2 separate regions of the Homo sapiens genome follow, and region 1 is linked to region 2. Evidence: promoter capture Hi-C in 16 types of primary human blood cells and fetal thymus (Javierre and others, 2016). All regions are on one chromosome and are shown on one strand. The core of a region is centred on a gene start or on the middle of the fragment in contact, and the rest is flanking DNA. Distances in the headings are between cores, read along the strand shown.

Region 1 (5,797 bases), core at 1,929-4,428, 240 kb after region 2:
AGGTGTCAGTGTGCCCCTGCTGGGGGGTGCCTCCCAGTTAGGCTGCTCGGGGGTCAGGGGTCAGGAACCCACTTGAGGAGGCAGTCTGCCTGTTGTCCGATCTCCAGCTGCGTGCTGGGAGAACCACTACTCTCTTCAAAGCTGTCAGACAGGGACATTTAAGTCTGCAGAGGTTACTGCTGTCTTTTTGTTTGTCTGTGCCCTGCCCCCAGAGGTGGAGCCTACAGAGGCAGGCAGGTCTCCTTGAGCTGTGGTGGGTTCCACCCAGTTCGAGCTTCCCGGCTGCTTTGTTTACCTAATCAAGCCTGGGCAATGGCGGGCGCCCCTCCCCCAGCCTCGCTGCCACCTTGCAGTTTGATCTCAGACTGCTGTGCTAGCAATCAGCGAGACTCCGTGGGCGTAGGACCCTCCAAGCCAGCTGCGGGATATAATCTCGTGGTGCGCCGTTTTTTAAGCCGGTCCAAAAAGCGCAATATTCGGGTGGGAGTGACCCGATTTTCCAGGTGCCGTCTGTCACCCCTTTCTTTGACTAGGAAAGGGAACTCCCTGACCCTTGCGCTTCCCAAGTGAGGCAATGCCTTGCCCTGCTTCAGTTCGCGCACAGTGCGTGCACCCACTGACCTGCGCCCACTGTCTGGCGCTCCCTAGTGAGATGAACCTGGTACCTCAGATGGAAATGCAGAAATCACCTGTCTTCTGCATCGCTCACGCTGGGAGCTGTATACCGGAGCTGTTCCTATTCGGCCATCTTGGCTCCTCCTCCCGGAGGGTGTGTTTAAAGGTGACAGTTATTGTAGGTGGAGATGCAAATCACTTTTCAGACTCAAAACCCTCACTCAAAGGAAATCCAAAGTCCTTACAATGGCAAAGGATCTGGCCACTGTCACTTCTCTCATTTGATCTCCTACTACTCTAAAAAGTGAAGTCCATAAGCAGTTTGGCATTAAACTAGTAAGATTTCTGAGGCCCTAAAAGAACTACCTTCTTCTGGTGAGTGTTAGGTAGGATACAAGTACTGGAAGAAACTCCCAAATCCACCTTAGCATAAAAATCCCTTCTGACTGAAACTAGGTAGAGTAAAATACTAAAGAATATGTTAAGCTGCTTTGACTCTTTAATTTGAAAAGTTTGGGCTTTTTTTTTTTTTTTTTTTTAAGACAGACAGAGTCTTGCTCTTGTCGCCCAGGCTGGAGGGCAATGGTGCAATTTCAGCTCACTACAACCTCCACCTCCTGGGTTCAAGCGATTCTCCTGCCTCAGCCTCCTGAGTAGCTGGGATTACAGGTGCCCGCCATCACGCCCAGCTAATTTTTGCATTTTTATTAGAGACGGGGTTTCACCATGTTGGCCAAACTGGTCTTGAACTCCTGACCTCAGGTGATCCACCTGTCTCGGCCTCTCAAAGTGCTGGGATTACAGGCATGAGCCACCGCGCCCAGCCCTCTTTTTCTTACATGAAAAAGTGCAAGATAATATAACTTTAGAGTTTAATTTCGACATTATTGAGGCATCCATGTTACCATGTATTATTTTTTTAAAATGTTACACATCATGCTTATTTTCTTATCATTTATTCTTACTGCAGAACCAATGGCAAACTGTAACAAATGACAACATGTATGAACAGAATTTGAAATCGGTAAAAGAAAAAAGAATGTATTTTTAACCTTGGGAATAGCACAGCCTTGGATTTAATTTTACCAACGTATTATTGGGACCTATTTCAGCAAACTCCTTGTAGCAAAATCTGTATTACCATCTGCAGTCCAAAGGAGATCTATAAAGATGCCTCGGTTCATAAAGGTGCACACAGGACCACCCTGATGGACTGTTACTCATCTTCCAAGGGATAAAGCCCCACCCTTATTGACCACAGGCTTAATGGTTAATGCCAATGAATTAAGACAGTTCTCATATCCTAGTTGAACAGTAGGAGAGATTTTTAAAAATGCACATATTCCTGCCCCATCTCTAGAAACCTGGTTTGAATTTGATCAGCATCAATGTTTTTTAAATGCAGTAAAAGTAATACTAACATGCAGCCAGTCCAACATAAATCAGGTTAAAGGAAGAAAAGCTGAGTAGTGGAAAAGTGGCAAGCCCATACTGCACTCTACCTGCCATGCTTCCCTGGGGAGGCCACACTCCTGATTTCTTGTCTCACATACCCTTACCAGATTGGTGAATGACTGGCATAGGTACTAACAGCACAGACACTGAAATTTGTTTGACTTCCTTTTTTCTGCCCTGGATCAAGACAAGGCAGTGATCCTGATTACATGTGTTTGCTCTGCAGGCCCAAACCCTATTCAGGTGAGCTGTCCCAAAGTTAAGACAGCAGAGAGGTACTGAGGTAGCACCAGCAGTAAACTAGTCTGGCCCTCATTCCTAAGCCATGTTCCTCTAGTAATGATGCTGACAATTTGATCTCCATTTGTCTGACTAATTAGTTCTGAACCTGAGCAGGGAAAAAGGAGATATAAATTTCTGATTTTTCTTAAACCCTAATGGAAACCATTCTGAAAATAATAATACCATATGGAATATCTAAATGTCAAAGAATTGATTTATGAATTGAAAACTAGAGACTACTTACAATGCTCTAACATTCCAAGAAACTCAAGGGGGCTGAAGGCATTTCTAAACCAGTATTTTTGGATGTGTGAAAAGGCTAAGTGCACAATCTCCTCCTTTCTGCTGCCCAGCCACATCCCCCTATGTTAAAATGAAGCAGTGCTCTTCACATCAGTGACTTCCTGATGAGATACACAGTCTACCTGGTAAGAAAAAAAATAAAGTCTTCCTTATAAAATACTTTACCTCTACAATGGTTAACAGAGTTTCCTGAGAGTTTCTCATCACTTCCATGGTTTTCTCACAGCATCTAGAGTCAAACACATTATAAATACGGATTTTGTTACACACCAATGTTGTCAACGTATCTTTATCTGTATACTCTCATGTGTAGTATGCTGAGCCTATGCTTAATAATCTACATATCTGTATCTCAAAATAGCATAATACTTGGCAGAGTGGGCTTTCATTAGACGTTTGAAATGAATACAAATATGTATTTGACTATTTCACAAGCTTGGCATTTACAAGAATAACACAACACTATTGATTACAGGCATGCACCACTGGGCTCAGCTCTCAGTCTTTGATTATTGTGGCAATTATTAGTTTACACTGACTGCAATCTGCCCCAATCCAAGTTGAGTACACAGACCTATGCTGGGAAAACTACAAGGAACTGCAAAGCTTTTTTAGTAGCACAATGTTATACTAGAACACAAGCTCCTATAAATAAAAATGTAGTCTCTTCTATATGCACAGTGATGAGCACCCAATAGTAGTTTGGATCATTAAGAAGGAGTCAGCCAGGATAGAGGTGTTAAAAGTAAAGGTGGGATGCTTCCAGAGGAGGTTTGGAATAACAGTATGTATGTTACATGGGCTTAGGTCCCAGGTGGGTGGAAGGAAGAGGAACTATTATTGCTTTTACCCAGGGTCTTTTCCTTAGTATTGATAAGGCACTGGAATACGATTCTAGCACTAAATTCTATAATCTATACAAATCTCTAACCCGTGTGTGTGTGTGTGTGTGTGTGTGTGTGTGTGTGTTTGTGTGTGTGTATTTTTTTAGATACAGGGTCTTGCTGTATTGCCTAGGCTGGACTCAAACTCCTGGGCTCAAACAATCCTCCCACTTCAGCCTCTTGAGCAGCTGGGATTACAGGTGCAAAGAACCATGCCCAGCCCATGTAATTTTGACATCAAAAATTATTTCCCTCCTTTACTTCATATCACTTACCTTCTGAAGACACCTTCAACACCCGTAATGCCCATGCCATCCACAATATCTCTGGTGAGTCTAAAAGGAACTGTCTCAGGAGTAGGAAGGATTTTGCCCTGTTCAAAAGCAACACCTAAAGTAAAGAATACAGTGAAGTTAGGAGGTTTGACAGCTAATTTACTTTCTTTCCAGTTAGAATGTGAACTTTACAAAGGCAAGAAACCACATGTTACCTACGTTCTATGAACACTAGTATGTACAGTAGTTTACTTCTGCTCTGGCTGCCTTCCTCATCTTTGTCACTGTCTGTGAGATCCACCTCAAATCCAAATAACCTAACTACTTCTTAACCCAACTAGAGAAATCTAGGTTAAAGGGTGATTTTTAAAAATGAAGTAACTACTGGTATAATTTAAAATGGAGATGATATATTTATATTTAAAAAATTTTTAGGCTGGGTGTGGTGGCTCCCGCCTGTAATCCCAGCACCTTGAGGCTGAGGAGGCCTGACACCTGAGGTCAGGAGTTAAGAGACCAGCCTGGCCAACATGGTGAAACCTTGTCTCCACTAAAAATACAAAAATTAGCTGGGTGTGGTAGCAGGTGCCTATAATCCCAGTTACTCGGGAGGCTGAGACAGGAGAATCACTTGAACCTGGGAGGTGAAGGATACATGGAGCTGAGATCGTGCCATTGCACTCCAGCCTGGGCGACAAGAGTGAAACTCCATCAAAAAAAAAAAATTAATGACATTTTATGAGATAATTATATGTTCACTTCGAGTTGTAAGAAATCATACAGAAAAGATCATCCCTTATGCCTTTTCCCCATTTCACCCCAACTGTAATGTCCTGCAAAACTATACTACTACTGACATCGATGCAGTCAAGATATATAATATTCCTATCATAAGGATCCTTCATACTGCCCTTTACGGCTGCACCTATTTCCCTCCCATAGCCTATCACCCAGCCCTCTGACCCCCTATTTTTCTAGCAGCCACTAATCTGTTCTCCATTTTTATAATTTTGTCATTTCAAGTATGTTATATAAATGGAAGTGGAATAATCATACAGTATGTAACCTTTTGGGAATAGCTTTTTACACTCAGCCTAATTCTCTGGAGATTCATCCAAATTGTTATGTATATCAATAGTTCTGTTTCTTTTCATTGCTGAGTAGTATTTCAGGGCATGGATGTAACACAGTTTGTTTAAGCATTTGCCCACTGTAGAACATCTGGATTTTTCCGGTTCTTGGCTATTATGAATAAAGCTGCTATACACATTTGTAGTACATGGCCATTTTATAAGTAGATTTTGTTGTTAAGTTTTGAGAGTTCTTAAAGATTGTTCTTTTGGTATCAAGTCTAGGAACTCTGTTTAGCCCTAGATGCTGAAGGTTTCCTCTTAATTTTCTTCCTCTGTTGCTCAGCTTGGGTAATTTCTACGGCTCTGTCTTCTATTCACTGATAATTTCTTCTGTCTCCTCATTCTGCAGTTGAAATTTTTTATTTTATTTACTATATTTTTCTGTTCTAAAATTTCCATCTGGTTCTCCTTTATATCTACTTCTATACTGAGACTACTTATTTCTGTGCTGAGACTTACTATATTTTAATTTGTTTCAAGCATGTTTGTAATTGTTCCTTCAGTGTTTTTATGATGGCTGCTTTAAAATCTTAGATAATTCCAACATCATTGTCATCTCAGTGTTGGCACCTACAGGTGGCCATTTTTCATTAAAGTTGAGATTTTCCTGGTTCCAGGTATGCCTAATGATTTTCAATTGACACCTACACCTTTTAGTTATTACGAGACTCAGGATCTTCCTTAAACTTCTGCCTTTAATGCCTTTGGGAGTCACCACCTTGTTACTGCTAGGTAAGGGCAGAAGACTAGATTCCCCAATTGGCCTCCACTGACACTCAATAGGGAAAGGGCTTGCTATAGCTGAGTAGGGCTGAAAGTCCAGGTTCCCCGGATATGTCCACTGACACCA
Region 2 (5,915 bases), core at 787-3,286:
CCTTTCAGCTCACTGTGCTCTGAGCACTAGCCCAGTGTTTCTAAACCTCTTTCTCACTACTGTCCCCACAATGCACCTTTTTAGAACTTTTTTCACAATCACCTCCCTTGTGCAATGTTAATACTTCAGATATACTGTGTATCTGTGTATCATGTGTAGATTTGTGCTTTCTACATAAAAAGAGGAAGATTTTACCCCTGTGGAGACTACATGCTCTGCCAAAACAGATCACTTAACAATCCATGAACATGCTCCAGTGTTTTCTAGCTTCCAAGCTTTTGTTCAGTCTGGCCATTAAAGAGGTTGAGGGAATATGAGAAGATTCCTAGACTGTACTTCTGCTATTCAGCACGCTGATCCCCTTGCCTAGAATAGACTCACACATCTCCTCCCACCACCCCCTATTTCTTCCTCTTGAAATCTGACTCTTCATGCAGCAACCTAAATACCGTATCCTCTCTCCATCCACTCAGTTGGCACTAACTTTTCTGTGTGCTCATGGAATTTTCTTTATTCCTCTATTATGTTCTTTTTTACATAGTCATCTTTCTATTTGTGTATCTCTCCCACTGGATTACAAACTTTCTAAAGACAAGGACTGTGTTGTTCACAGTGTGTGATGCCTTCATGTAATAGGCACCAGGATACGTTGGTTGAAATCAGTTCACTGATATACTGGAAACAGTGTAAAATCCCACCAGTGACCATATTGAAAAGTCCCATGTGTATGCTGAATAAATGAACACACTAGAAAAACTGGACACCATATACAAGACATACTCCCAAAACAGGATCATTAATACAGACACTATTTATAAAGGAGTTCTGTATTGTGTACACCATGGGTGAACAAAATTGGTTCCTGGTTCACACAAATAACAGACACCCACAGAAAGTTATCTGAATGGCTAGCTGCCTAGGCATGTTTTAAATAATGATGATCAAATGGGGTAGCCCAGAGAACAAAACACAAGTGGCAATTTTTGATATCATGTTCTTGTACAGATACAAAATTTTAATTGGGTTTATGTGCCATGAAAAGAAATGATATATGTAGAAGTACATTTTATATGTTAGTAATCATCACCACCATCTTCAAAATGACCAAATTAAGGCTATGGGGCAGGAAAGTCAATCTGACAGAGTTATTTTTGGGTAGGAAGTGAAGCCAAGATAAAAACATGTTTTCTGTAAAAGCCTTGATAATTAAAAAAAAAGTATATATGTGAATATCTTTATAAGTTTCTATTATTCTTCATTGCATTGTGGAACAATTGACTTTCTAGGAAAGCTATTTCTGTGGCTTCATAGGATTACCATTTGCTTTCACCAGAGGATTAGGTATTTTTAAATGGCATGTGTATTACTTCTCTGAGTTTATTAAGATGATAATAAAATCTTACAGAAAACTTCTAACAGGTGTTTTCTACAGTCCTTTGCTTCTGGGCTGTCTTCTCCTAAAATACCATAAACGGTTTTGTTTGTTTGTTTGTTTGTTTCTAAAGTCTAAGAATGACTTTTGTGGGACAGTGGAGGTGGGGGTGTCTGTGGGATGAGAGGCTTGGCAAATAATTCGTTTCCAAGGATACACTAATTTCCGCCCTTCAGCCAGGTTCATCCACAGTCAGTAGTGTAATTGAGTTTAGTTCTTCCTGGTCTTTCAGATAAGTAACCCTTTTGCCAGTTACAAACCCTACTTGCAATTCTATTTTCTATGGGCTCTTAATTATTGAAAGGGAGGATTAGTCATGAATCTCCTTTTTCACTCCTTTACTAATCAAGCTCAAGTTCTGCGAGCAAACAGCAACAGCAAAAGCAAATACTTTGGCGCCAACACTTAGCCTTGCCTCACTTAAGAGGCAGAATTATGTAGGCTTGTTTGCTTAACAACTCAGATAGGGGGCGGGGAGGGTGACCGGAGGGGACGAGGGAGGGGACGAGGGACGGGACGAGACGAGGGAGGGGACGAGGGAGGGGACAAGGGAGGGCCCGCCCCCTTGGAACGGGATTGGTTCCCTCTCTCCCTTTAGCCGTTCACTTTGCATCTCGGTTGGACAGGTTGAGAGAAACATGTCATTAAGGTATTGTCAATATGAGCCCTTCAGGTGTGGGCGTTCCCTAGGTTTGTGGTTTTAGACTTTCAAAGGGGCGGACTTATTATTGGCTGTGGGATCAAGTTCGTGAAACTGGTCTTGTACAGGTTGAAAAATGCCTTCCTAACAGGAGGCGCCAAGGAGCTTAAGTGTAACTCACACACAGTAAAGAAAATGACGAAAGTTCCTCCGGCGTTTGATTTCAGTTTCTTAAATGACGAAGAGGCCAGGAAGATCCTTCAGGTGCTGGAAAGGAATGAGGAGTTACAGAGGGCCGAGAAGGACAGGATCAGGTACAGAGCAAATTCATTTCTTTTGTCCTGGGCCTGGGTCCCGCAGGGGCCGGGGATCCGCGGGGAAGGCGCTGAGCTCGCGCGGGGCACCTGCCCGGGGGTGCTCCGAGCGGCTGCTGCGGAGGCTGCGGGTCGGGAAGAGAAAACTGCGCGGAGTTGCTCCCTGAAGGACTTTGGGATGCTTAGTTGGTACCCTCTCCACCCACCACATACCAGACGGGCTCGGCTGCGGGTCTGGGGTCGGGCAGGGTGGGGGGGTCCGTGCGCTGCGGGGGCCGCGCAGTGACGCTGTGCTGTGCCGGGTGTCTGCTGGGCCATCGCGGGGCGTGGGCCGTTTCAGGCAATGAAATGCGGCGGGGGCGCGATCTGGAGAGGAATCCTGGCTGCTGCTCACTCCGCGGCCCGCGCGCACCCACGTGCTCGCACGGGTCCGACAGAGCTTCCACCCTCGCCTAACGCAGTTTTCCCTCGGCACCAGAGGCGAATCTCCCCACCCAATGCGGGCAGTCAGCGAAGCACGGGAGAGCCGGCACCTCACGGGAGGCGAAAGGTCCCCACCCCAAGGGTAGGAGCTCGAGGAATTTGTCAAATAGAGGCTTATGTGGGCGAATGGGACTTGGACACACGGGGTTGGCTGGAATGGGTGGGTCTTCTTGTGCGTGGTGCTGTGGGGAGCGAGTTTCTGAGAAATTTCATCCTTGACCTTACTATACACTGTTGTAGGTGAGGGATTAGTTACTAAAGAATGAAATCCAGAGACACAGATAATTACCCAGGATGTACATTAACCAGTTTTTCTGCTGGGGAAGTGTGGGATAAGTGCTGGAATGAATTAAAGGGACTCTCTCGCCAATATTGGAATATATCCATCTAAGTCCTTCTCTAGATAACTGTGGAAGGGAATTCAGGACATCACTCTCAGACCACACTGTGTGCCATTGATTGGAATTTAGCAAGTCATTTTGTTTTATGATCAACTGCTTGCTAATGCGAGTTCCAGGTTCCCAATTCTTTCTAGAATTGCCTGTCCCCCACCGCCGACAAAAGAAACCCTCCAGGGACCCTCTTCAAATTGGAAAATCTAGTTGGTCTTTGTAGAAAGAATTAGAATACACTAAGCCCAATGCCCTGACTTCACCCTTCTCCCCTAAACATGACTCTTTGAGGGATGAAGGAATATTTGAGGTTGGGGAATATGGATTTCATACCATCTGCCTTGAGAAAAAGTGGCTTTATCATTCCCCTCCCCTGAACAGTGTAGAAAGTGTGCCTTCAGGAGAACAGTATGCCACACCCACACACACCCACGTGCATAATGTACCTACACATATGCACATGCACCGCACAAGGCACACCCAACTTTCAGAAGAAGAATTTCAGAACTGCACGGAATTTCAGTGCATATTCCAAAGGCACTAAGAAACTGCGGTTATTCTCAGTGTGTGTTATTGGAAATGTTTCTTGTCTCTGAAGAGGATGGGGCTTCTTAAGTGATCCATTGTATATTTGGGGAAATTGAGGGGAGAGTTAGAAAATAACAAGGAGAGAAGCTTTCATTTAAGATGTTATCTTGACTTTTTATTTTTGACCTGATGCTTGCTTGCCTTATTGTGTTTTCTCTATTGCAACTCACGATGCCCACTGCAGTTGACTTTAGAGGGAACTGGATCTCCACATAGATCTACACAAAGCACGTGTATCTACACAAAGCCATTGGGCTGGGCATTAGAAGGAAGGTCAAAACACATTTTCTAATTTCATGGCACTCATATTCTAATGGAAGCATCAACAGAAAAAGCCATAATGCTAAGACAAAATCGATACTGTATTATACTAATTATTAAAAGTATTTAATTGCCCAAACAATTTGAAAAATATCACCATTAAAATACAAAAATCATTTAAGGAAAGTAGATGTGTGGACCAAATACCCAAGGCAATGATTTCTAGTACTGTCTTTTCCTTTGATTAATTCCCCACTTCCACTATCAAATACCCATGTCTGGCTTGCAGGCTCCATGGGATTGTTCTGCTTACCCACTTCAGGCTCACATGTATTAATTTCAGTATCAGATATTGGCATGCAGAAAGGGCCTGAGACAACATGGCAACTTGGCTGCCTCTTCTGCTCATTTTCTTGATATGTGTGATCATATTTTCCAAATCAAAAATCAGGACACATGACTTATAACTCAAGAGTATAATTTCATTCTGTTCTGGCTTGGCATATGTGAACAACAACAAAAAAGAGATGCTTCAACAGGCCTGTCTGAGAGACTCAGGGAAGCCTTTTTACTGTATTGAGAAAGAGCTTCAAGACCTCTTGACTAGAACAATAAGGGTCCAAATGGGGAAGTTTAGAAATTTAGCAGGTTGGGGAATGGCTGATGAGTTCATTTATATCTATGATAGGCTTGAGGTATCTGCAAGACAACTAAGAAGAAATACAGGCACCCTATAGTTGGGGCTGGGCCCGGTGGCTCACGCCTGTAATCCCAGTGCTTTGGGAGACTGAGGCAAAAGGATCGCTTGAGGCCAAGAGTTTGAGACCAGCCTGACCAACACAGAGAGACCATGTCTCTACAATAAAAATTAAAAATAAATTTAGCCTGATATTGTGGCACATACTTGCAGTACTAGCTACTCAGGAGGCTCAGGTGGGAGGATCCCTTGAGCTCAAGAGTTCAAGGCTGCAGTGAACTATGATTGTTCCACTCCAACCAGAGTGACACAGTAGAGACCCTGTCTTTAAAAATAAAATAAATAAAATCATTTTTTTTTAAAAAAGAACTACAGTGTCATGCAGGGCCAGAGATGTTCTGAGATAGGTGTGAGGGTAGTTGAGTTCATCATGCAGAAGGCAGCAGCCCCACCCACAGAAAAGTTCCTGAACACATAGAACTTTCTCCTGATCTCCCCTCATCTGTACCAGACCTCTCTGGCTCCAACTTACCAGGAAAGTATTTGCATTAAATATAATAGTTAATGTTTCTAATATATAGTTTATTCAGATTTTTAAGAAAAACACCAAGATTCAAACTGATAAATAGGCAAAAGATAGAAATAAATCATTCACACCAGAAGATATCCAAACAGTAAACATAACAGATGGGAAAATGTCTACCCTCACAGTAATAAATGAAAATTGAAGTAACCTTGAGATACCATGCTGCCCCTTTAAAAATGACAGAAAAAAAAATGTTGGTGAGGGTTGGAATGAAATGGACAGATTTTGCACATTGTTAGTGACGTTGTAAGTTGATTACAAGCTTTTTGGTGAGCATTATGGCAATATCTATCAAGATACGCCTTACGCTTGACCCAATTGTCCAATTCTTGGATATTTCTCATTAGTAGGAGATTAAGGTGGAGGAGATGGCCACACCAACATATATTAAGTGCTGCCTTTTTATGTAATAATAGTAATTATTGTGGTAATAACGACAGCTAACATTTATTAGGCCCTTACTATATACTAGGCACTGTACTAAACATGTTATACAGATTTAATTAATCCTCCCAATAACCT

The links. The method cuts DNA at HindIII sites, captures the fragments that hold promoters and counts their contacts. A CHiCAGO score of 5 or more calls a contact.
Region 1: a contact is called between a fragment that was not itself captured here and the fragment with the promoter of EXPH5 in region 2, in 5 of 17 cell types (naive CD4 T cells, naive CD8 T cells, non-activated CD4 T cells and 2 more). The highest score is 6.6, in naive CD4 T cells.

Annotation. Positions count from the first base shown.
Region 1 is chr11:108,351,898-108,357,694 of GRCh38, reverse strand. It overlaps ATM (ATM serine/threonine kinase), which reads right to left. Exons shown (of 63, transcript NM_000051.4): 60 at 3,815-3,929; 61 at 2,821-2,884. It also overlaps a transcript of C11orf65 not described here. Among named protein-coding and RNA genes, the nearest start is that of C11orf65, 110 kb to the left of the region's middle. The HindIII fragment of the contact is 171 bases long and covers 3,093-3,263 here.
Region 2 is chr11:108,589,889-108,595,803 of GRCh38, reverse strand. EXPH5 (exophilin 5) reads left to right here and starts at 2,036. Exons shown (of 6, transcript NM_015065.3): 1 at 2,036-2,386. The coding sequence starts at 2,268. RefSeq lists silencers at 1,850-2,149, 2,170-2,219, 2,500-2,559. The HindIII fragment of the contact is 3,661 bases long and covers 278-3,938 here.